Linked DNA regions of Homo sapiens: regions 1, 2, 3, 4, 6 and 7 are each linked to region 5. The links are contacts of gene promoters, found by promoter capture Hi-C in blood cells and fetal thymus (Javierre and others, 2016). All regions are on one chromosome and are shown on one strand. Each heading gives the region's core, a stretch centred on a gene start or on the middle of the fragment in contact. The rest is flanking DNA. Distances are from core to core; before and after follow the strand shown. Region 1 overlaps CHST15 (carbohydrate sulfotransferase 15). Region 2 overlaps CHST15 (carbohydrate sulfotransferase 15). Region 3 overlaps CHST15 (carbohydrate sulfotransferase 15). Region 4 overlaps LOC107984128 (a long non-coding RNA gene). Region 5 holds the start of OAT (ornithine aminotransferase). Region 6 overlaps ABRAXAS2 (abraxas 2, BRISC complex subunit). Region 7 overlaps CHST15 (carbohydrate sulfotransferase 15).

The links. The method cuts DNA at HindIII sites, captures the fragments that hold promoters and counts their contacts. A CHiCAGO score of 5 or more calls a contact.
Region 1: a contact is called between a fragment that was not itself captured here and the fragment with the promoter of OAT in region 5, in 3 of 17 cell types (monocytes, total B cells and naive B cells). The highest score is 11.8, in monocytes.
Region 2: a fragment that was not itself captured here is called in contact with the fragment with the promoter of OAT in region 5 in 1 of 17 cell types (monocytes); the score reaches 5.4 in monocytes.
Region 3: a contact is called between a fragment that was not itself captured here and the fragment with the promoter of OAT in region 5, in 7 of 17 cell types (monocytes, neutrophils, M1 macrophages and 4 more). The highest score is 13.5, in monocytes.
Region 4: a fragment that was not itself captured here is called in contact with the fragment with the promoter of OAT in region 5 in 1 of 17 cell types (monocytes); the score reaches 8.3 in monocytes.
Region 6: a contact is called between a fragment that was not itself captured here and the fragment with the promoter of OAT in region 5, in 1 of 17 cell types (activated CD4 T cells). The highest score is 5.2, in activated CD4 T cells.
Region 7: a contact is called between a fragment that was not itself captured here and the fragment with the promoter of OAT in region 5, in 1 of 17 cell types (monocytes). The highest score is 5.4, in monocytes.

Annotation. Positions count from the first base shown.
Region 1 is chr10:124,030,206-124,033,591 of GRCh38, reverse strand. The region is part of intron 5 of CHST15 (carbohydrate sulfotransferase 15); the gene reads left to right. Among named protein-coding and RNA genes, the nearest start is that of CHST15, 62 kb to the left of the region's middle. RefSeq lists an enhancer at 1-71. The HindIII fragment of the contact is 5,558 bases long and covers 1-3,386 here.
Region 2 is chr10:124,068,511-124,071,966 of GRCh38, reverse strand. The region is part of intron 1 of CHST15 (carbohydrate sulfotransferase 15); the gene reads left to right. Among named protein-coding and RNA genes, the nearest start is that of CHST15, 23 kb to the left of the region's middle. The HindIII fragment of the contact is 5,512 bases long and covers 1-3,456 here.
Region 3 is chr10:124,009,752-124,013,059 of GRCh38, reverse strand. CHST15 (carbohydrate sulfotransferase 15) reads left to right here. Exons shown (of 8, transcript NM_001270764.2): 7 at 580-727; 8 at 2,721-3,308. The coding sequence ends at 2,911. Among named protein-coding and RNA genes, the nearest start is that of CHST15, 82 kb to the left of the region's middle. The HindIII fragment of the contact is 4,917 bases long and covers 1-3,308 here.
Region 4 is chr10:123,961,235-123,964,503 of GRCh38, reverse strand. It overlaps LOC107984128 (a long non-coding RNA gene), which reads left to right. Exons shown (of 3, transcript XR_001747628.2): 2 at 2,438-2,538. Among named protein-coding and RNA genes, the nearest start is that of CPXM2, 71 kb to the right of the region's middle. RefSeq lists an enhancer at 447-616. The HindIII fragment of the contact is 839 bases long and covers 1,391-2,229 here.
Region 5 is chr10:124,416,994-124,420,410 of GRCh38, reverse strand. It overlaps OAT (ornithine aminotransferase), which reads left to right and starts at 1,488. Exons shown (of 10, transcript NM_000274.4): 1 at 1,488-1,538. RefSeq lists an enhancer at 299-813 and silencers at 787-1,446, 1,389-1,928. The HindIII fragment of the contact is 6,386 bases long and covers 1-2,817 here.
Region 6 is chr10:124,824,889-124,828,582 of GRCh38, reverse strand. ABRAXAS2 (abraxas 2, BRISC complex subunit) reads right to left here. Exons shown (of 9, transcript NM_032182.4): 5 at 1,798-1,988. Among named protein-coding and RNA genes, the nearest start is that of ABRAXAS2, 25 kb to the right of the region's middle. The HindIII fragment of the contact is 591 bases long and covers 1,794-2,384 here.
Region 7 is chr10:124,049,197-124,052,618 of GRCh38, reverse strand. The region is part of intron 1 of CHST15 (carbohydrate sulfotransferase 15); the gene reads left to right. Among named protein-coding and RNA genes, the nearest start is that of CHST15, 43 kb to the left of the region's middle. RefSeq lists enhancers at 1,616-2,116, 3,158-3,422. The HindIII fragment of the contact is 7,591 bases long and covers 1-3,422 here.

The DNA.
Region 1 (3,386 bases), core at 885-3,384, 390 kb after region 5:
TTTTTTCTAACCTAGTCATGAGTGTGAAATCCCATCGTCATTGCCATATTCTGTTGGTTAGAAGTGAGTCATGAGGTCTAGCCACACTCAGTGGGAAGACACTACAGGGTGTGAATACCAAGAACCGGGGATCACTGAGGACCGTCCTAGGAGTCAGCCACCTCCCGTTCTGCACCTGATCCTCAGGAAACTGGGGCCTGGGCTTTGCAGCCGGGAGAGTAGCTTCCAGCTTGATCCCAGCTCTAGTGGCAGAGGAAGTGTGTTTATGTGCATATTTTCTGTGTAAGTTACTGACATAGCAGCTGTTTCATTTCTTCTTAAACATTTATAAAAATAAGTAACAATAGGAATTTCTTCTTTTTCGAAGCCCATGACCCATGGCCTGTCTGAAATGGTTGGCGCGTTTCCCATCTCAGCCAGAAAGGATGATAAATACTGTGTGTTTAGGTCACTCTTGAAGAAACAAACACTCTGAGCCCAAGTTCCATCAGTCTAACGGGATCCTGGGCCATTAGCCCTGTTCTGTGACCTTGCACTTCTGGAAGCAGGAGATTTTGGGGGTTGCTGGCTGCAAGTTGGATTGGTCCAAGTTGTTCTTTTCCTTCTATAAATTGGCTTGGAGAGGGGAAATACCACTTTTATTTTTAGTTTTAGGTTCACATTCAGCCTAATTGATCCAAAGTAGAGGGTTTGAAAATGTTGGAATTTTAAGCAAAGTCAAATCACTTTTAAATTTCCAGAGAAGGAGTCAAGTGGCAAGTCCATTTTTTTTTTTTTTTTCTGGAGGAGAACAGAGGAATAATGGAAACAAGTGGATGGGATGGTTCATATGGCCAAAGAAGCCAGCCAAGAATTCATGTTCCAGTTTCCTCTCTGTAAGAGATCATGACAATTTAAAACTAGCTTGATGCATTCCTATGCTAAATTGGCCCAGTTAATTAAAAAGAAGCCACCAATTGCAAGCAGAATTTTTCTTTATTTAATCCCATTCGTAAGTGGTAAAGACTATTCTTTTCAAATGCATCTCACATTAGCCTCCTGCCTCTTCATTTGTGAGACAGTTGATAGTGTTTGTCTCTTAATTCAGAGGCAGTTATAGCCCCCGTTAAATGTGAAAAATGCGTGGAAGGTGCTGGCACCTCCAACCTAGTTGCATTCCTCCTTTATTCAAGGGACATTTGGAGTGGGGTCATGTACCATCTGTTAAGGATTTTACCGTGTCTATGTTTGGGGTTTGATTCTGTGTGTAGTCTTAATGCAATGCCCAGAAACAACCCACCACAGGAATGGTTCATTTTCCCATTCTGTGATGATGAGTCCAAAGGGAAGGAGAACTCAGCTTGGCGAAGAATTCAAACTCGATTTTGACCCAAACCCCTGGAGTCTTGGAACCTGGCTAGTTCTTTTCTTCATCTGCTTATATAAACTGATTTTTTAAACAACCCGTTGGACTGGTCAAATGATTCAGTTATGACGATAAACTAGGAAAGGAAGCAGGCTTTTAATGAAATGGATTCTGTTATAGGCAGTCACTCATGGGGACACAGAGGAATAGCAGGGCTGAACATTTGGGCAGGAATCCTGGTTTCATCAGTTTCACTCTGTCTGCAGAGTGTGTGAGGGGGCCTCAGGGTGGTGCACAGCTTTCACCCGCTGAGTGTCTGGGAGGTGTACCGGGGTCATGGTGGCAGGAACACAGGCATTGGAACCCCAGCCCTGTCACTTACTGCTCTGTAAACTGGGACAAGAAACTTAACCTCTCTGTGCCTTATTTTCTCATCGGTAAAATGGGGGAAGATAGTCCTACCTCCAGGGTAGTGAGAGTTAAATGACTTAATATTTGTAGTAACGTGTTTAAACAGTGCTTGACAAATGGAAAATATGTAACTATTATTATTATTAGGTATCAGTTATTACTAATAATAACAATAAACTGATCACTCATTTACTCACTCCCCAGAGTTGCAAACCACATAACCAAGTTTTGGTCAACAGTGGACCCCATATATGATGGTGGCCCCGTAAAGTTATAATCCCGTGTTTTCATTGTGCCTTTTCTATGCTTCAATACATAAATTCTAACTCTTATGTTACAACTGCTCACAGGATTCCTGCGGTACAGGCTGACAGCATAGGAGCAGTAGGCTGTACCTCGCCACCTAGGTGTGTAGGGGGCTGTGCCATCTGGGTTTCTGTGAACACTCTATGACATTCACATAATGACATCACCTACTGATGCATTTCTCAGAACATATATATCCCTGCTGTTAAGTGACGCCTGGCTGTATTTATTGAACACCCTTGATGTGCTAGATGCAAGCTGTACATAGGAGAGGAAAATCCATCCCGTTTGCTCTCATGGAGCCTCTGTCTAGTTGAGGGAGTAGGGCCAGGCTTCATGTAAATGACTGAGCTGGGGCAGCCCCTCAGAGCTATCTCTGGGTGAGGCTTCTCCCATCCACCCATCATTGGACAGGACCACCTGTGGAGGCTTAACCTTGGTTGCTGCTGGTGGTCTCTTCAGCTGAGGCTCGTTCCCAGGAGGGACTGGGCTGTGAGTTATTAGCAGGATGGCTCCCCAGTTTTGCAAAGCTCTGTAAATAGGAAGGACCCGGTATTTGTGGATGCCTAAGCCTGGATGCACCTCATTCACCTACTTCCACATCAGAGGGAGCAGGATGCCCGCCCTAGGGCAAAAGCCAGCACACACAGAAGGGAGCTGAGCCGGATTCATGCCTTCGAACCGCAGCGGAACTTTGACTTGAGAATCTCTCTTGCTATTCAGGCAGCACCGGAAGCCCCTCTCCAAACAGCTCAACTTCCCCCAGCCCCTAGAAGCACTGATTGAAAGCCCTGGATGTGTTCTCAATCAGAAGAGAGCCTGGCACTGGGAATGTCATGCGATGTTTTCTCTAGAACAGATTTGCACAAGGATTAAAACGCAGGCTGTTCCTAGCACTGAGGGATTCATTATTGATTTAAACCATCTCAAAGGGAAATTAGGAGAACGCCTCTGTGGAGAAGAGACGGAATGAGGAGAAAGCCGTGGGGATGTAGAGGTTGCAGCAATAGCCACGGATCGATTTCTCTTTCTCACCTCTCCCTCCAGCTCTCACTCTTTCCTTTCCTCTAAGATTTTGGAAGATTAAGAATTACAAGGGTCCTTGTGAGGACTACTGTAGTGCGGTGTCTTTATTGAAGCTGCCTATTGATTCCTGGTGGGTTCAGGCATTTTGCTTCCCAGAAGCTGCCTGTTGACACACCTTGATATGGGCCCTGGAAGCGGCACGAGGTCACTTTAATAGGACTGAGCTGTTGAGCCACCTGAGGTCAAGGGGGTTGGCCTCGATCACAGAGCGGGGAGGGAGAGCTGGCAGCGCCCAGGC
Region 2 (3,456 bases), core at 410-2,909, 350 kb after region 5:
GGCCTGAGCAGCCTCGTGCAGGAAGCTCTCTGAGGAGCTGGACAAGCTCTGTGTCTGCTGCTCCACAGGGTCATGCTTGAAATGTGACTAGGACGGCCGAAGAATGGAAATTTTACATCTCATTTACTTTTAACTAATTTAAATTTAAAAGCAGATACTTAATTCAGTTATTAGAAAACTTTTAAGAATGTTTGGAACAGCTTGGGTCCATAACTCCTTTTCCGACTCTAAGTCTTATGAAATCTAGATACAGCTCAGGTACTTCAGATGAAAATGTAGCATCCAAATTGAGATGGACCTAAGTGTAAAATACACACTGGAATTTGAAGACTTAGTATGAAAAAAATGCAAATTTTTAATTAATAACTTTTATACTGACTACATGTTGAAGTGGTTATTTTGCGTCTATTCGAGTTGAACTACATGAAAATTAACCTCACCTGGAACATTTAACCTAGGTATGGGCTCACACTCTGTTTTTGTTGGGCAGTGCTGCTCTGAGGCACTTTCTTGCTGGAATTTGACTCAGAGTGCTAGGGAGTTGGAGGAGAGGAGAGAAGCCCCAGCTGTGGCCCCTTGTTTGGCTCACGTGGGAGCAGGGTTTCAGGCTGATGGCACACCTGGCCCTATAGATGGCCACAAGGCCACCTGTGATGGGTCTGTTGGGCTCTGGCTGGCCTGTCCATCTCCTTGGGTACTTTGCCCAAAGAGGGAAACTGCCCGTTCCCTCCAGGTAGTGCCTTTAGAAAACGAGAATCTTCTCTAACGCTCTGGGCTAGGAAGAGAGAGCTGAGCACGTCTCACCCTGGGCTGCACTGCATCTCACACAAGTGGGACATGGCCTGCTGCTGGTCAGGGTGAGAACTCTGCCTTTAAGTTAGAATCAGATCAAATCAAATCAAATTGAATTCTTTACCCCAGTGGGGTAGAGAGCACCGCCAAATACTAAGCTACAGGAATGTGGCCCAGAAAGCAAATTAGGTTTTATTTCTGCCTCCTGCCTTTGCCCCGCTGTTTCTGGAAGAGACCCCATAGACAGTGCCGTGAAGGGCAGCCTACGGAGTCTGTGGCAGGCAGGGACTCGCAGGTGAGCCTGGTAGTGGGTCGGCGGGTTCTCATCCATGGTGCTCAGCCCGTCTGAGGTCATCTGCCCTCTTCTTCATTGGATTCTGGAAGCCTCCCCACCAGCCTGCGAGATGCAGCTGAACAGGGACTTGTTTTGTTTACTGCTGCATCCCAGGGCTCTACACTTGAGCCTGACATAGAGTAGGGCTTTAATAATCTTTATTGAGGGCCGGGCACAATGGCTCACTCCTGAATCCCAGCACTTTAGGAGGCCCCGGCCAGACAGATCACGAGGTCAAGAGATCAAGACCATCCTGGCCAACGTGGTGAAACCCCGTTTCTATTTAAAAAAAAAATCAGCTGAGCATGGTGGTGTGCACCTTTAGTCCCAGCCACTCAGGAGGCTGAGGCAGAAGAATCTCTTGAACCTGGGAGGCAGAGGTTGCAGTGAGCCGAGATCGAGCCACTGCACTCCAGCCTGGTGACAGAGCGAGACTCAGTGTCAAAACAAAAACAAAACAAAACAAAAAAACTTTACTGAATGGGTTCATTTGGAGGATGCCCCTTAAATCTGATGGTCAAATATGGCCTTCATGTTGACCTTCCTGAAGTGACATCCCCGTAGGTGGGCATATGCATTTCCCTTGGGAGAGATTCCCAGAGGGGCCTCTGGCTTGGGATTGGCTAGGAACCTCAGACCTACATTGTGTTTTTACTCTAGATCTGTAAGTGCAGATTTTTCTTTTTTTTCCAGAAACTGTTTCTTGGACAACACAGCAACTACTTTCCATTGCAAAGAAAAATCCTGTCCTTTGTGTGCTCTCTACAAAGCACTCACACAGCCAGGCTATATCATTTGTTCCTGACAACGTGCTGGGGGGGACATCACCATTTTCTGCATGTCCCCAGGAAATGGGCGGGACCACTTGTCCAAAGTCCTACAGCTAAAGGGAGGCACAGTGACACCTTAGATTCAGGGGAACTCCCATCTTGGGGTGACTTCTTTGCCCTCAGTATATTCCACATGTCATGGAACCTAATGGATAAATCTGGTTTGGTCAGGCCTGGAGCGCAGAACTGTTAAAGGCAGGCAATGAGAGAAAAATCTGCGTCCTTCCTCGAGGGATGAGCTGGCTGACTGGGAAGGTCCAGGCTCAGGCTGGCCTCTGCCCAGGTGTCCTATGGCAGGGGCTCATGGAGGAGCACTGTTCCTGTTTTCTGGGTCCCCTGCTCTGCCTCACCTGTTTAAAGTCAGTGACTCAAATTTTTAAAACTGTGAAACCGTAAACTGTCCATCCCTGTTCAGCCTTCCCCAGGCCACGGGCCCTGCACGTGTCACTGCTTGTTCATGGTTCTCCCCTGTGTTGCCTTTGAGGCTCACTCATCTTGATGACTCAGAGACTTGCCAGAGACCCTGGACTCCCCGTCCCAAATTCCCCGAGCCTGGCCCCGATGATTCTTGCAATGTTACTCTGTTCATGGTGCCTCTGCCCCATTTCCATCTGTGCCATATCACCAATAGTTGGGGGGGGGGTCCCCCAAACAACAGGGACTAACTTGAACTTTGCAAGACTCTTGAATTTCCTGGCTATATTTATTATCTGTATGGCACTGATTTGTACTAGAGCTGAGCCTGCAGAAGTCAGTTGAACCCATCCTCTCTATATTCAGGAGGACTACAGGATGTAGGAACTCAAACGGGATGTTGATCTGTGGGAGTTTGCAACTTTGCCTAGCAGCACAGACCTGCCTCCTTGGGAGAGGCCTCTGGGGAGGGATGCTAAGCCGATGGATGTCTGTGCAGAGACAAGGGACTGTCCTTTTCACCTGAGAGGCCATTCTCATCCTGCCTAGTCCTGTCTGATTCACATCTGACCCCAGCTTAGCCCAGACAGAGACATGCTAAAGCATGTTCTGATACTTTCTAGCTTCGATTATCTCCTTGTATGCTTTCTTTGTATACTTAGGGCCCAAAATACCATAAGGTGGAACATTCTAAAGTAAAAATGATCCCCTTTTTATTGTTTGAAAATTTGTGTTTCTTATTAAAATAGAACATTTTACAGTTATTCACAAGATAAGGTCTTACTTTAAAAATCACTATTTTCCTCTGTCTTTCTGACTTCTTTTTTTAATTCAAGAACAGGGATATTAAGGCAGGTGATGAAAGCAGAATTTTTAATAAGAGCATAGTGATGCTTTTCACAACGGACTTAGAAGACATTAAAATATATGTGTTTTGATCTTTTTCTGGATTTGAATATGAAGGACTAGTTATTGCAACAGACAGCAAAGTAATTCATTTCGGATGCATTTCAGCAAGCCAGCCCTCTAGGAGACGCTGGAATAAAATGTGGAAGTGTGTGACACAGACCAGACTGGACATGTACC
Region 3 (3,308 bases), core at 554-3,053, 410 kb after region 5:
GGTGAAGACCCGGGAAATGGGTACTGGAAAGTAGAAAGGACTTAAATAGAAACATCCTCCTGTGTACTTGGTTCAGTAATGATTAGATGCTGAATTACACACACCCTCACAGTCAAGGATGTTCCTCTGGCATCAGGCATTTGGCTCTTCACTCATGTAGGTTGTCTTTGGGGTGTCTGTGGTTGATTTTTCACATCCCGTTGTGTGCTGGGCATAGAGGTCACACTGGGAACAGAGAAACAGCCAGGATATTGTGCGAGGAACATGTACACCATTGGTGGCCACAACCTTGACCTCTTCCCTGCACTTCAGTCCTTACCTGTGAAATGGAGGCATGGCGCTACCCACAGGGTGTTGTGAGGATGAAATGCAACCCCTAATATAGGAATTCTTTGCACATGTAGCACAAAACCCCCCATAAAGAAGCAAGAACACCTTGTGTTAAAATCCAGCTTCTGAAAGTAACTTTGCTAGGATAACTCTTTTGTGGTACAGTGAAATGCCATACCACTTTGGAAAAGTGCCCTATGGTGTTGGGGCAACTGCTCCTGAAATAATGCCCTTCTTCTGTGGTCCTAGGTGAGGCTCCAGGTTGGGCTCTATGCTGTGTACCTTCTGGACTGGCTCAGCGTTTTTGACAAGCAACAGTTTCTCATTCTTCGCCTGGAAGATCATGCATCCAACGTCAAGTACACCATGCACAAGGTCTTCCAGTTTCTGAACCTAGGTATGAGTGTGGTGCTTAGACTGACGGGCCAAAGCATGAGCTCCGTGGACTTGTTCTGGGAGTCCTCTGGGGCAAATGCAGACCTGGTCAGCTGGGTGGGAATGGGCTGAGCTGGGAGGCCTGGGGATGTCCTTCAGGAGGCCTGTTAAGTACCATTTATTGAGCACTAGCTGTACATAGGTCATTGTGCACAGTATGGTGAGGGATTCTCTGGAGAGAAGGAGATGGTTTCCCTTCTGGGAGCTTATGGTCTAGTGAAGGGAGAGGAGGAAGCCATAGCTCACCTAACTGAATGACAGGTAGGATGCCGTGGGGAAGGTCAGCACTGTCATGTAAGGTATGTGCTGATGGTTTGGGATCCCAGCTACTGCACGGATGAGGAAGGCTTCATGGAAGGAAAGGGCCTGAGAGCTGAGCTTTGTAGGACCAACAGGATGTCACCGGGGGGCTGGAGCAGAGGACTTGGGGCTTAGAGGAGGGAACAGACAGATCATTGCATCATCTCCGGTATTCTTGGAAATTCCAGGAGTCAGAGCCGTGTGGCTGAGTTTTGGCTGCTGATCATGGATGCTGGGCCCCTGGGGCATGAGCGCCTGCCCTCAGCCTGTGGATACCAGCCCCCCCAGGGGCCTGAGAGTCACTTTGTGGTGACAGGCCACACTGCTGACTATGGTGATGGCTGGCAGAGGCATGTGCTGGCGGAGCGAGTGCTGCCCATGTGGACGGGGCACCGAGGGATGGCTTGAAAGGCTGAGCAGGCTCGAACAAGCCGCCCTCCTTCCCAGAACGCCTCCTGCAGCCCTGACTAATGGTCTTGCCCGGGAACTTGGTTAATTGAGTATTTCTGAAAATATATCTGCCTGCCACTGGGACTTGGGCCTCTTTGATCATTTGATTTTGTTTCTCCTTTTTTTGGAGTTTGATGAGTTCTTTCCCTTCCAAGGCTTAGAATCATCTTTCTTTGATTTGACCACATGTTGACTCTGTCCCATTAATGAGCTTGTCTTTTGTCCCCAAGATGGATAGTAAGGCCAATTCTGTGTTTCATATGGCCCTAGGATGCTGGGACATGCTTTTTCTGTCTATGGGCTAAGGACTTTGGCCAGATCCCAAGAGCCCCCGGTAAAGAGGCTTGAGCAGTGATGGGTTACACCAAGAAGCTGTGGCCCAGAGGGCGGGGCGTTGGGGTCGCAGCCCTTGCTGTTCTGTTTCAGGGCCTCTCACTCCAGAGGGCGGGGCGTGTGCGTGACTGACAGCCCCTCCCGGCCTTTTCCAGGGCCTCTCCTCACTCCAGAGGGCGGGGCGTGGCGGTGACTGACAACCTCTGCCAGCCTGTTCCAGGGCCTCGCCTCACTCCAGAGGGCGGGGCGTGGGGGTGACTGACAGCCCTTGCCGGCAGGCCTCTTCTCCCTGATCTCCTTGCTGCAGATGGAGGTTCAGCCAGTGGGGGCTCTGGGCACAAGTGGCCTCCTCCCAGCCCTCCTCCCTATGGCCACTTCACAGCAAGACGCACAGGGTGAAACTGTGCAGGCCCAGGGACCTTGGCATGAGCAGCCTGAAGTAGAAACGATGATGGCGGAATTCCAGAGGGCTGCTGAGCAGGAAAACCGAAACCCGTGGGCTGTGCTCGGCAGGCCGCACGTTCCTCCAAGGACGGGCTGACACCCATGGAGAGCAGCCCACCAAGGGCAATTGGAAGGGAATCCTTGAGGTCAGCCTTAGACGCTGTATCATCATTAAATGCCAGCTGGGCTCCCCCGAGGGTGGGCATCCTGCACCCGCCGCAGAATTTCTTCGCAATTTCCTGATGGTGTTTCCACCTTCCTCCCTCAGTGCTTCCAAAATGGATCCAGCCAAAGAATTTTAATCCCTAAATATGTTCTCTTAAAGGAAACTCCTGTCTGAATACGAAGCATAGCTGGGATTTTTGCAAAGTCCCTTTTACTTCCTGCCATGCCTCCTGCCTTACGGGACTCGTCTTCTTTTATTCTAGGGCCCTTAAGTGAGAAGCAGGAGGCTTTGATGACCAAGAGCCCCGCATCCAATGCACGGCGTCCCGAGGACCGGAACCTGGGGCCCATGTGGCCCATCACACAGAAGATTCTGCGGGATTTCTACAGGCCCTTCAACGCTAGGCTGGCGCAGGTCCTCGCGGATGAGGCGTTTGCGTGGAAGACGACGTGAGAGCTGAATTGTTGCTGCACGTGCTGGGCCCGCCAATGCCGTCATCATCAGGATTTTACAAATCTCTTTGCGGGGAACTGTTTCACTCATGGTATGGAAAACCCCAGGACTCTGCCACTCTAGGCACACATGAATTATAACCATTTTGGAATTTCCTTCGTGATGTTCGAGAGCTCAGCAATGGACCCCTCACAGAGCTCCTCTATCCGAGGCCATTGGAGACCCCAGTTTCTCAAGAATTCAGCTCTGCTCTGAGCGTCCTGGAGCTTGGGGATGCAGCCAGCTGGCCTGCACTGGGTGTGGAGAGAACACCTAGGGAAGGCAGCCTGGCCCTGCCCGCCTCCGCCTTCTGGAGAGCCTCTGGGTTCTGAGTCAGCAAGCCAGAGGTCATGCCACA
Region 4 (3,269 bases), core at 561-3,060, 460 kb after region 5:
GTAAGCTGGTGATAGCATGGCCAAGGCTCTGAACCCAGCTTCTGCCCTACTTCTGTCTGCCTGATTCTCCCTTTTCCTTTTCCTCTCCTTGTCCCTCTCTCCATCTTCCCTGCCAGAAGCAGGGCTGGCTGCCCTCTCAGTCAGGGTGTGCAAGGCCCCCAGGGAGGCGACTGTGGGTGCATGCATGCATGCGTGTGGGGGTTTTATGTGGCAGTGTCTCTAAGATTGGGTTTGGGGTTCATGAGATTATTTTCCAAAATTAGAAAGCAAATGTATGTGGGGAGGAAGGAGGTGCTGCCAGAGGGCATGTCTAGCTGTCTCTTTTGGAAATTAAGGAAGAGGAGGTCTAGTTTGGCCCCTAAAGTCATACTTCCCCTTGGGGCTGCAGTTTTTAATCTGATATCATTAACCAAAGTCACTGCAAAGCTCCTCCCAGGGCTTTGATTTGAGGTGAGTGGGAGCCCCCTGTCTTCTTGGGGGTTGGGTGATTGTTGGATGACATCAGAGAAGCCCAGTGTTCCAGGTCAGAGCCTTACTCTCCCTGCAGGCTCCCCACCTCTGTCCACCAGAGGATTTCCTGTCGCGTCTGTTTGCTTATTGCTTCTCAGATAAGTTTTCATTTGAAACAGTGGTCTGAGGCTCTAAATCATTTGAAAGTCTTCTCTCCCAGTGTTCAGACAATTCCCCTGGTTCTAACATTTGGTGATTCTGCAAGAAGCCTTCATGCTAGGGCAAACAACTCTCCCACTTTGCCCAGCGCCGTGGGGTTTCTGGACATGGGACTTCTAGTGCTGAAAGTCCCAGGAAAACCAGGCCAATTGTTCATCCTCTCACATTCTCACTTGAGTAGCTTATATTTTGAGCCATGCTTGTTTAGAGAAGGGAAAGACACCATTTAGAAAGCCCCTTCAATGCCTAAGTGTCAAGAAAAATGGGATCCATCACCTAGTCGAATAGTAACACTGGATGAGAAGGGAGGGAAGCTGGTGCCCATATGTTTTGAAAAAGCAGCATTTACTTTAACTTTGAAATCTCAGAGCAGTCCCCAGGCAGGATGGGAAGCCAATGGGGCCAGGGCTGGTGCAGCTGATGGGATCTGAAGGGAAAGAAGAGCTTTTAAAAAGGAGAATTTCACACTGAATCTCTTAATCTGTTTTACAGACTCATAAAATCTTAATATAGCCCCGAGACTGTCATGTTTACAGACAGTGCAGCAAAGGCAGTGGCTTGGAGTGTGACCAGAGAGTTTGCAGAACAAACGCACCAGGGAGGGGCTTGGATGGAAATAACCAAGCGCTCTCCCCGCAGGGTAAGGCAGGACAGCCGGGCAGCCCCCGTCTGGTTCCCCCAACTGTGAGCAGAACGCTGGGCTACAATCTAGGCTGAAGCTTCAGTGTACTGGCTTTTAGCAAAAAGCCCCCATACTGCTCCTGGGGCAGAGGATGGTAAGATGCCAACTCCTGACACATCCATGACAGTGTGTGATGCAGGTGGAGCTCCAGTCCAGTGGACACACCTGTGATAGATTTGAGAACGCCTGGAGGTTGGAGGTTGCTGAGAACCCAGTGTTGCTAAGAGGGTCACAGGCACTCAGAAGACAGGGAGGTTCCGGTGGGCTTCCTGGAGAGGGGCCCTGGGCTGGGCTCCACAGCATCTGGGAAGGCAGAGGGCATTTCTGGGGGAGAGGGCATGAGCAAGTACGGGGAGGCTGGATGGGCACAGCACAGGTGAGGGCAGCAGAGGCAGCACCTGGAGAGAGGGCTTTTGTTGGGGGAACGGTGAGAGATAAGCTCACCCTAGTCCTGGCTTTGGAGATGAGAAGAAGAAACAAAAATGAAGCAAAATACTTGTCACTGTAGAGGAGCTTACAGTCCAGACGACCTGGGAGAAATGAATTTGAAAACAAAGGAAGATTTAGGAGCTGCGCCTGTCAATGTCAAGGTCCAGCCTGAGCCATGGAAAAAGAATAGAATTGGAGTAAGCCCTGCTGGAGGGCAGACGTCTTCTTCTCTCTGTACTCCCTGCCCATCCCAGGAATCTGGACACTGGCGTACTTCCGTGTTAACATAACGGCTTTAAAATTTTTCCCGTTATGAGCTTTAAAGAAGTAATTTCCAAATATTGGTCTTTGTGGAAAAAATGAGAAAAGAATCAAGTTTCCCTGGTCTAAGACTAAATGTGAAAAGTAAAGAAAATATAGTGAGTTTTTTTTTTTTATAAAGCCAAGCTTATTTAATTTGGAGTATCCTTTACACAGAGATGATGCTGTTCCTATATTTTTGTGTTCAGCTGGCTTTCTTTAATGGAATCATGGCCTGTGAATTAAAATTAAAAGTATTGGTTTCTGAAACCCTAAAGGCTGGGAACTACTGTTTTAATGGCTGATTGTCTCCATTTCTAAAATATATATCAATATATTTTGACATATGGACACTAGGCGTCAGGAAGACAGAAGAAGCTGGACAGAAAGAGATCAAGATTTAACTGGTTATGCTGTAGACCATGGCAGATCGTAACAGAAGACAAAGCCCTTAAAAGGTAAACCTCCTTGGCTCTGTTCCCTGGAAGAGGTGGGTTATTATGTTGATGGGAGGTGGGTACAAATTGGGAGGGATTTGGATGATGCTATAAGATTGGAAGCTACGAAATTTTTGTGAATGTTTATTTCTTTGAGCTAGGCTTGGGATGGGGAAGACTCTTCTCTCCTTTGTTCCAGACATGAGTGAGATCAGAAAGTCTCCTAGACAACAAGAGCTGGCCCCCTCTGACACTTCTGTGTCACACTCCGTCTGAGCTTTCTCTGGTCTTGCCCTTTTCCTAGGGTTAGAGTCCAAAAGCCAAGTTGACATGCCAACTTGGAGCTCATGCCTGTGTAGGGGAGGAAAATAATTTCTCTCTACTTTTCATAGTTTTTAGTTGGGACAGACCCCTGTAACAAAAGACAGATTAACAAGAGAAAAACAGAAGTTTAATAACAAGTATACCCTCATGCATAGATGGGAGGTACTCAGAAAAATGAATGAATCTCAAAGAGGTGGCTTGGAATTCAGGCTTAAAAACTATTGTCTATGGAAACTAAGAAACAAGGGCATGGGGAAGGCTGGTTATGGGAAGAAAAAGCACAGTAAACAAAGAGTAATGTTTGTATTTGCAGATCTGAGTCAGCGCCTTCTCCATTGATAAGAGTCTTTAGTGATTTGAGTCCTGGTACAGAGAGGGAGACACTCTTACAGATGGAGATTTCACCTTTTATAGATATAAATTTCCCT
Region 5 (3,417 bases), core at 239-2,738:
CTGTCTTAAAGGGCTCCCCTGGCCTCTGGCCTCCTAATGGCTTCAGCCCATGTGGAAGCCTGACAGGAGATGCTCATTGTCCAGCTCCTTCCCATGCAGTTGCTGATGACTTTGGTGACCAGATAGCCTTTCCCACACTCCTCTCTTTGGGTTCTGGAATTCTGGAAACCCCACTTGGAGGCCGTTGGGCCTAGGATGGATAATGGCCCTCGCTGGTGCATGAGACCCAGGTTATTTCTCCATCCCTTGTGGTTTACTTGCCTACATTGATTGATTGATTGGTTGATTAAGATAGATGGTCTTGCTTTGTTGCCCAGGCTGGAGTGCAGTGGTGCAGTCATAGGTCACTGCAGCCTCAACCTCCTGGGCTCAAGTGATCCTCCCACCTCAGCCTTTGGAGTAGCTGGGAACATAGGTGTGCCACCACACCAGATTAATTTTTATTTTTTTTTGTGGAGACGGGGTCTCACTGTGTCGCCCAGGCTGGTCTGGAACTCCTGGGATCAAGCAATCCTCCTGCCTCGGTCTGCCAAAGTGCTGGGATTACAGGCATGAACCACGGGCCCCCACCACCACGTTTTAGGAAATGTTCACATTGGAGTGTGCCCTCTGTTTCCAGCTGGGCCCCCGACTGGTCATTGTGGTCTAATGGAGTGTGGTGCCGGCAGCTGCCAGCGCCTGCCCTCTGAGAGGGGTGGCGAGGGGCACACAGGACCAGACTGCCCCTACTGTTGGATGACTGGGTAAGTCGCTTTCCTTCTCTGGGTCTCTGTTTTCCAATATTTAACATCTTGTTGTGGGCTAAGTGAAGTCCAAGTCCCTTCCGATTCTAACATGAGGTTGTCCCGGAATATCTATTTTGTGTTCTGAATTTAATAACCGGCTGTGGAGGGCACCACAGGCAAATCTGTACTGTGAGTGGGTTGCTGCCACTCAATTATCTGACAGCAGCTGCGAACAGGTGGGCAGTGTGTTTTCCATAGGCAGCGACGACTTTTGGAGGTGGATTCAGAGGCACAACTAAGCCGCGCGGCGCATCAGGGTTCAAGGGCATGGGGCTCCCGCAGCTGTGGCTGGGGCAGAGCTGGGGCTGGTCCCTCCCTCCAGGAGCACAGGGCGGGCGGTCCAGCCTCACGTCTCTCGGCCTCCAGCCACACCCGGCCCGCGCAGTGGGGGGCCCAACAGACTTTTCCTTTTCGGGCCTCAGTCTTCTCGTCAGCAAGGGCGGACAAGGACTCTTCTCGTCCCGCCAGAGGAGGCGACCGAGGGGCCTGAGCTCAGGTACAGGCCGGCGGGCTCAGGAGGCGCGAGCGCGGATCGAATCCGCGGGAGGAGCAAAGATCCTTGATGCGCGGCCGGAGGGCGGGGCGGAGGACGGGACCCACGCGATTGGTATCCTGCCCTCCGCCCCAGCCAATGAGCGGCGAGGGTGTCTTGGGGGCGGGGCAGAATCAGCCTTTAAGTTGCAGTGACTCTCCGGCGTCACTGTTGCGCTTCATAGACGCCGCGTGTACCCGGTTGTCCTCAGGCGCTGTCAGGTACCGTCTGGGCGCCGCTGTCCTGGGGCTCTGGTTCGGGCCCTGGCCGGGGTTCCCTGACAGCGGCGGGGGAGGCGGGCGGGCGCGGGGTGGCCGCGGCCCGGGTTCGGGGGATGCTGGCTGAGGGGGCGCGCTGGGCCTCGGCCGGGGAACGAGCCCCGCTTCAGCGGCCCGTTTACTCTGCGGGCGGCTCGGACCCGGGCGCCCTGGAGTCTCCGGCCGGCGCGCAGCTTCAGGGGGCAGGGGCGTGGCGACCCACGGCTTGCAGGCCGGAGTCCTGGTTCCAGCCCAGAGCGGCCGACGGGCGGGCGGCAGGGAGAGGCTGAGGATGTGGCAGCCCCGCCTGCCAGACCGGGCGGAGCCGCCGCCCCCTGCGCTCGCGGCCTGTGGAGGCCAGGACTCGGCCCACCCGGCCCAGAGACCCCGAGGCGCCCCGGGGTTCCGGGTAGGAGGCCTTTGGGCACCCTTGGTTCCTGGGGTTGGCGGGGAGGCTGCGTTCTGGGGACGGGGGAGCTGTGCAGTAAACCGGTGGCCCTGGTCACGCGGCGGGGGCGCTGATGCAGCCTTGGAGGGCTGGGTCCTCCCGGCCTGCTCCTGCGCCCTGCAGATCGGCCTGCCCATCGCTCCCCTCTTCCAGCCTATGATTTTTTTTCTCCAGCCTCTGTCGAAATAAAGAAAATTACGGAAGCAGAACCTTCCTTACAGTAACGTGCAGGTTAATTAGATGGTGGGGGATGGGGGGGCAACAGGACTTTCAGCATGAAAACCTCCCGTTGGGGGCTTTTTGCAAACCCTGCTGAGCATCAGTAAATGGGCCTGGCCAGTGCGTTTCCTCGATCGCCTTCCCGGGCGGGACGGGAGGGGTCATTGTCCGCCCTTTGCTGGCGAGAGGACTGAGGCCCGAAGTCACCTGGGCACTCGCCCTGTGACCCACCGTCTCCTTTTGTCACTCTACATCTTACCTTTTCGGTGTTCAGTTTTACCTCTTAGATAAATTACGGTGATAAATTAAGGGCGAACAGACAGTGACTTTGGAATGAAGTGGCTTTACCTTAAGAAATGACTAATGTTCAGTTTCCAAATTCTAAATTTCTCCTTCTGGGATTGAAAGGGTTTCTGTGGATAAGCTAGTTCTTTCAGTTAACCCCGGAACTGTTCTTTAGATTGTAATCAATCGCTCTTAGCCATGTGAAATAACAATAGACTCCTTTCATTAGAATATCCTGGTTCTGTCTTTAGATGAATCTTTTCATAAAAACGAGCGTTAAATTAAAAAGCTTATTTTTAGCCCGGCACGGTGGCTCACACCTGTGTAATCCCAGTATTATGGGAGGCCCAGGCAGGCGGATCACCTGAGGCCAGGAGTTTGAGACTAGCCTGGCCAACATGGTGAAACCCTTTCTCTACTAAAAATACAAAAATTAGCCAGACATCGTGGTGCGCGCCTGTAATCCCAGCTACTCGGGAGGCTGAGGCAGGAGAATTGCTTGAACCCGGGAGGCAGAGCTTGCAGTGAGTTGAGATCGTGCCACTGCACTCCAGCCTGGGCGACAGACTCCGTCTCGAAAAAAAAAAAAAAAAAAAAAAAAGCTTATAGTTTTGGGTTTACAGTTTTTCATGGTGTTTAAGATTAGTTTTGCATCCCCCCCCCAAAGAAAAATCCAGTATAACTTTAAATAGTAAACATTTTTAAAAGACATTTTTCCCTCAAAGCAGCTGTCTTAATATGTATTATCCCCATAGCGTGCCTTTATTACAGTTATTTGTGTGCATATTTTATGCCCTTTAGTGAGTTCTTGAGGACCTTTCAAATCTCAAACATTTACAAATAGTGATGAATGCACGAATTTGGATGTGTGTGGAGGATGTGCTGTAGTTG
Region 6 (3,694 bases), core at 840-3,339, 410 kb before region 5:
CAGCCTGGCCAACATGGTGAAACCCTGTCTCTACTAAAAATAAAAAAAAAATTAGCCGGGCATGGTGGTGCACACCTGTAGTCTCAGCTACTCGGGAGGCTGAGGCAGGAGAATCACTTGAACCCAGGAGGCGGAGGTTGCAATGAGCCAAGATTGTGCCACTGCACTCCAGCCTGGGCAACAGCAAGACTGTATCTCTAAATAAATAAATAAATAAATAATTTTTTAAAAAGGGCATGCGTGGTGGCATGTGCCTATAGTCCCAGCTACTTAAGAGGCTGAGGTGACAGGATCAGGAGTTCAAGGTGGCAGTGAAATATGATAGTGCCACTGTACTCCAGCCTGGTCACAGGGTAAGACCCTGTCTCCAAAATAATAGTAATAATAAAATTAAAATAAATAAAAGTAATTAACTAAAGCAAGAATGGGGCTTGGTGGTAGGAGTCTTAGTTGCTGACGTTGGTAAACCAACAGGAAGGTCTCACGGAGCACCTCCTTCTACAGACAACCCAAGGATACATGAATTAGTGATGTTTTCCCTTCTGTAAAGTAAAACCTTGCTTATCAACTCCTTGAGAGCACAGGTCATGCCTTACACATCTTTTGTATACTCACAGTGACTGACACAATGCTGAGCCTGTAAGTGCTCAAGAGATACCCACAGATTACATAATGAAATCTTATAAAAACCTTTTTAACAATTAACAATTATTTTCACTGATGTCAATTTAATTTATTCTACAACAAATAAACTTCCAGAGGGAAACCATTTTGCTGTTTACAAACAGACAACATGATCATATAATCATAGGGGTGGTTTTTTTTTTTTTTTGGTTTAACAAGTTCACGATGCAAAACCCTCGTTAACCAGCAGGTGGTTCAATTTCACAATTTTGTATTTGAAATTTATGTTTCAAAATTATAATCAGACTTCCACAGCAATAAAACTACATTTCCACATAGTGGATTATGGAGAAGCAAATGATGATTTCCAGCTATTTATTCCTTATAAGAATTTATGCATAATAAACATGTCTTGTTAATGCTTCTTGATCCAAAAACAATTTTATGTAAATAACTGACAAGAAAAATACCTTCCGTAACCACAAAAAGAGCTAAAGGGAATAATACAAGTTTTTATTTAAAGATGCATAAAGTTTTGGGAGGCCGAGGCAGGTGGATCACCTGAGGTCAGGAGTTCAAAACCAGCCTGGCCAAAATGGGCAAAACCCCGTCTCTACTAAAAATACAAAAAAATTAGCCAGCATGGTGGTGTGTGCCTGTAATCCCAGCTACTCGAGAGGCTGAGGCAAGAGAATCGCTTGAACCTGGGAAGCAGAGGTTGCAGTGAGCCGAGATTGCACCACTGCACTCCAACCTGAGTGACAGAGCTGGACTCTGTCTCAAAAAAAAAAAAAAATGCACTATAATGCACATTTTTGAAGTCACGAATCTCAGTGACTTGTACCAACATCCTTTTTTTTTTTTTTTGAGATGGATTCTTGCTCTGTTGCCAGGCAGGAGTGCAGTGGCACAATCTTGGCTCACTGCAACCTCTGCCTCCAGGTTCAAGCGATTCTTCTGCCTCAGCCTCCCGAGTAGCTGGGAATACAGCCACGTGCCACCACACCCAGCTAATTTTTGAATTTCACCATGTTGGCCAGGATGGTCTCAATCTCTTGACCTCATGATCCATCCGCCTCAGCCTTCCAAAGTGCTGGGATTACAGGCGTAAGCCACCACGCCTGGTCCCAACGTCCTTCTTATATGTGAGGCAGATGGAAAAGCAAGCTTTACCTTCTATTTGGTCTGAAGAGCACATATTCTAAAGCGTGAGTGGAATTGTTGGCAGTGGAGATGAAGCTGAAGAGAAGAAAGACGAGGTCGGGCACGCCGAGGATGCGGGTGAGCTGCTTGTGAAGAACCTGCTCTCTGTAGGACATCTGCTGCTGCGTATTGCGCCGGAATCTGTACCACCCAATGACTTTCTGAAAGAAAAGTGTGAAAAGTTGCATGAAATCTTACAAATTTAATTCTGAATGTATCCATACAAACACACATGCACAAATGTTCATAGTAGCTTTATGTGCAAAAGCCCCACCCTGGAACAACCCAAGCGTCCATGAGCAGGAGCATGGATAAACAGACTGTGCTTCAGGCATATGCTGGAATCCTACTTAGTGATAAAAAGGAACATGAATGAGTCCTAAAATAACTATCCTGAGTGAAAGAAGCTAGACACCTCCTCACTAAAAGAAGTATAGGTTATAGGATTCTATTTGTACAAAATTCTAGAAAATGAAAACTAATCTAGTGACATAAAGAAGATCAGTGGTTAACAGGAATGAGGGGAGAAGGCAGGACTGGAAAGGCACGAGGAAGCTTTTGTAGGTGAAGGAGATGCTCGTTATCTTAATATGGTGATGGTTTCACAAGTTTACACATACATCAAACTTCTAAGAGCATACATTTGAGATATGTGTTATATGTCAATTTTACCTCAACAAATCTATTTTAAAAGTTTAGCTTTTTCAGCTCTAACTATAGCATAACTAAACTGGCTAATGAAACTGTTATGCACTCTGGAAGAATACTTCTCATAATGTGATTTGTTGGTCATCAGGAAGACAGATGACTTCAGAGATATCTGAAAGACTGCTAAAGTGCAGATTCCTGGACCCCATCCCTAAAGTGCAGATTCCTGGACCCCACCCAAATCTGCAGAATCAGAACCTCTCAAGATAGAGCCAGGAATCTGAATTTAAGTAAGTTTCTGAATTTTTCTTTTGCATACTGAAATTTAAAAACATCTGTTTTCAAAACATTTAATTCTTTATTAGAAGATCAATCTTCATACAGCTTCCTTCTTTGAAACCAACTCTGAGTTAAAATCTTGTTTTAAGAAGCAAAGGTAGTTTAAATCTAATAGTGTCATATTAAAATTAAAATTAATAGTAAATTGAGATTGTTTTGACATTTTCATGTAGAAAGTAAGCCAACTTTTGCTGAGGCTAGCATTGTCACAAATATTTTCACTAATTACTACACCACTCTAAGTGAATAATGTTTTCTCCATTGAGTTCATATCATATGCAAAGAACTACAGAGAACAAAGAAATAAGCAATAGTTCCTGACTTAAGGAGTACTACTGAACATAAAACATATCTTCCCATAGATTAAAGCAATTAATTCTGATATCCCTTAAATAAAAAGAAAACCCAAGCCTTTCTCTCAGGGTATAATTTTTTTTTTTTTTTTTTTTTTGAGACAGAGTCTTGCTTTGTCACTCAGGCTAGAGTGCAGTGGCATGATCTCGGCTCACAGCAACCTCCACCTCCTGGGTTCAAGCGATTCCCCTGCTTCAGCCTCCCGAGCAGCTGGTATTACAGGCATGTGCCACCGCGCCTGGCTAATTTATTTTTAGTAGAGATGAGGTTTCACCATGTTGGCTAGGTGGGTCTTGAACTCCTGACCTCAAGTGATCCACCCGCCTCAGCCTCCTAAAGTGCTGGGATTACAGGCATTGAGCCACTGTGCCTGGCCTCAGTATATAATCTGATAGAAGAGATGTTTTGTCCGAAGTTACAGAGCTCATGAGTGACAGCCAAGATGTGGAATCAAGATGCCTGCCTGTTTCCACTGGGCAACACTAACTTTCACATTCTACACTAGACATGATGGTGGCCATAAAAA
Region 7 (3,422 bases), core at 832-3,331, 370 kb after region 5:
CAAGATCAAACCTGGGCAACCTGGCTCCAGCACTCGGGCTCTTAACTCCAGTGCTGTACGTGATCTGTTGCTAGCGGGGACTTCTTTTGAAAAATACAGAGGCCCAGAAACCTTAAGTGATTTGTCCAAGGCCGCTGGGTGGACATGGACTTGGAATCCTAATCCATGTGACTGCTGTGTCCTCTCCGCTGTGCTATGGGCCAGTGAATGTTGACGGAGTGGTGTGGCTTTATTCTGCTTATTGACTGGGATGTGATCAAAACTGTCGAAGTCCAGATAGAAGACTGAATCTGATGATTTATAATTTGTACAGAACTCTTCAGTCTTGTTGGCTTTCTTCTCAGTCTCAGCAACAACCTTCTATCTTAGAGCTACATGTGAAAAATGTTCCTTCTCCTACTTGTTGATGAATAGTCCTTGAAAAAATATATTTCCATATATATAGCCTAGAGAGGAATGTCAGCAGTTACACATACTAATCAGAAGAAGGCTTTGTGTTTTAGTAAAGGTTAATTAAGACCCATTGAATTTTTTTTCCTTAAAACATAAAAGAAAAATAATGTAATTAGCTATTTTTTTCCCTCTCTGTCCCCAGAGGGCAAATGTAAATGTTCTACCTAAATGAAGCTATTTGTTTAAATCCATCCAGATTTCTTCTGAAGTTTCATACATCTTTCTTCTGCTATATCAGCTTATAGCTACAATAATTTAATAAGTTTTTCCTAGGGTGAAATTGGATGCCCTTTATCGATCTTACACTGAGGGGGCATTCAATTACTTAATCTAAAGTGGTATTTCTGGGTCTCTCAATTACAATTTTGTTATAAATGGCTTGCTAATGATGCTTGGGTGCATAGGTTAATAGGGGGTGTCCAAGCAAGGGCTGGGTAATTGAACACTTTCTATTTTGGGACCCGTTATCTGATTTCTCTCCTGGTGCCAGGTTCCCACAGTGATGGTCTGCAGCCATCAGGCTCAGAATTGAGCCCAGGTGGGAAGCAATCTCACTGAAATGTATACCTGAATCCTTTGGTTTAATACATGAACGGAAGTGCCAAGGGCCCCGTCTTGTCTGAGTCGACCGGCACCAAATGTGGACATTCCAGACAGGTGAAGTGCAGGGGGCATACATGACTCCTTTCTGAAGGAAGAACCACTTGAGTGTTAGGTTTCTGAATGACTGTTCTTGGGATAATTTGTGGCCTACGGAAAAGGCCAGATACAGAACGTAACAGCAATCCATTTTCCTTTCAATACCACCCCATTAATTGGATTTTTCTTCCCTGAGTTATGTTCTTTAATAGTTATACATAGTAAACTATTCTATACATATTTTACTATGTATATTTACTATACATAGTAAAAATTCTTTTGAGGCCAGGCGTGGTGCCTCATGCCTGTAATCCCAGCACTTTGGGAGGCCAAGGCGGGCTGGATCACTTGAGGCCAAGAGTTCGAGACTAGCCTGGCCAACATGGTGAAACTCCGTCTCTATTAAAAATGCAAAAATTAGCCGGGCGCAGTGATGCATGCCTGTAATCTCAGTACTCGGGAGGCTGAGACAGGAGAATCGCTTGAACCCAGGAGGCGGAGGTTGCAGTGAGCCAAGATCGTGCTGCTACACTCCAGCCTGGGCCACAGAGTGAGATTCCATCTCAAAACAAAAAAAAGAATATGTAGTATGCCTTCCTTCTTGCACTCGAGCAAATCCCACCCCTGACTTTGGCCTTCAAGACTCTACAGAGCCTGGTCCCTGCCTCCTCTCCCATCAGGTTTCCACCCCCACCAGCCTGTGCCCCAGGGCCTACCCTGCCAGTAGCCCTCATGGGCTGGGACTCCCCACAGCGTCTCTCTACGGGGCCTTTGCTTCCCCTGGTCTCCACGTGACTGGCTTCCTTCTTGTTCAGGTTTCTCCTCCAACGTCCCCTCTGAAATCAGGTCTTCCCTGTCACCCTGTGTATCATACCTCCCACTTCTTTAAGGCAGTAGCTCCAACCCAGGGGTGATTATGCACCCCAGGGGGCACTGACAATGCCTGGAGACATTTTTGGTTGTGACATGTCAGGGGAAGGGGTGCTATGGCATCCAGTGGGTGGGGGCCAGGGTGCTGCTAAGCATCCTACTGTGCGCGGGACAGCCCTGACAACAAAGCATGGGCCAGCCCTAGGACGGCACAAAGAATTCCAAAACCCTGTTCCAATGGTTGTATTGCTCTCTCCCCCTTTTCTTTATTCTTTTCTGCATAGCCTTTATCTAGCAGCATCTGTGATTATCTTATTCATTTGGGACTTCTTTATAGCTTGTGCCCTGCAGCCCCTACCCCTGGTGGGACAGAAGCTCCACTTGGGAACAGGCCTCCTCTCTGGGTCAGCCCTGCACCACTCGCGCCCGTCAGGGGAGGTCTTGTCTGGAAGCCGCCGGGCTCTAGGGCCTTCACTTACAAGGGACTCACCTGGTCTTCAGATTGCTTGTCCATCTTACTGAGTATTTGACATACTATACAGTGGCTATCGATTTTGGTAAAAACTTGTAAATGTAAGACAGTTTTATGTTTTTTTCTCAGAGAGGCCCCCACCCCCACGCCCACCGCAGCCCAGGGGTATTTTCCAACACCAGCAAATCCTCCAACTCCAGAACCTAACTGATTATCTTACCATTCAATTCAAGTCTGCCCCTACCAGAGGCAGCCTCAGACTCTACCGGTTTGAGGGCTCGGTCTCACCAGACTGCCCCACTTCAGATGCCAGTCCCAAGTATTGGGTCCCCAGGTTACCCGCACATCTGTCCAAATTGGCTAAAAAGGCAAGAGTGTCCCACAACCTCCTCAGGTTCAGTAATTCACTAGAATGACTCACAGAACTCAGGAGAGTGCTTGACTCATCATCAGTCTATTATAGCATAGAATGCAGAAACAGCCAGCAGATGAGACGCATGGGGCGAGGTATGGTGGAGGAGGGTGTGTGGAGCTTCCATGCCCTCTTCCTCCACTCCACCCTCCCAGCACCTCGAAGGATCCACCAACCTGGAAGCTGCCTGAGCCCTGTGGTTTAAGGGTTTTGATGGCGGTTCCATTACAAAGGCCTGATTGGTTAAATCATCAGCCACTGGTGATTGACTTAATCTGCAGCCCTTATTCCCTACCCGGAGTTTGGGGGGTTTGTTGAAAGCTGCTCACTGAGGCTTGGTCTTTCTGGTGACCAGCCTCCATCCTGGAGCTATCCTGGCCCGCAAAGTGTCACCGCATCAGGATACACTCAGGTATGGCTGAAAGGGGCTTGTCATGAATGACGAAAGGTGCTTCTCTCACCCCATCATTCAGAAAAATTCCAAGGATTTTAGCACCTGTGTACCAGTACCCGAGGATAGAGACCAAATACTCATCTCTTATTTCCACATCACATCCCTCATCTTGTATTGGCTTT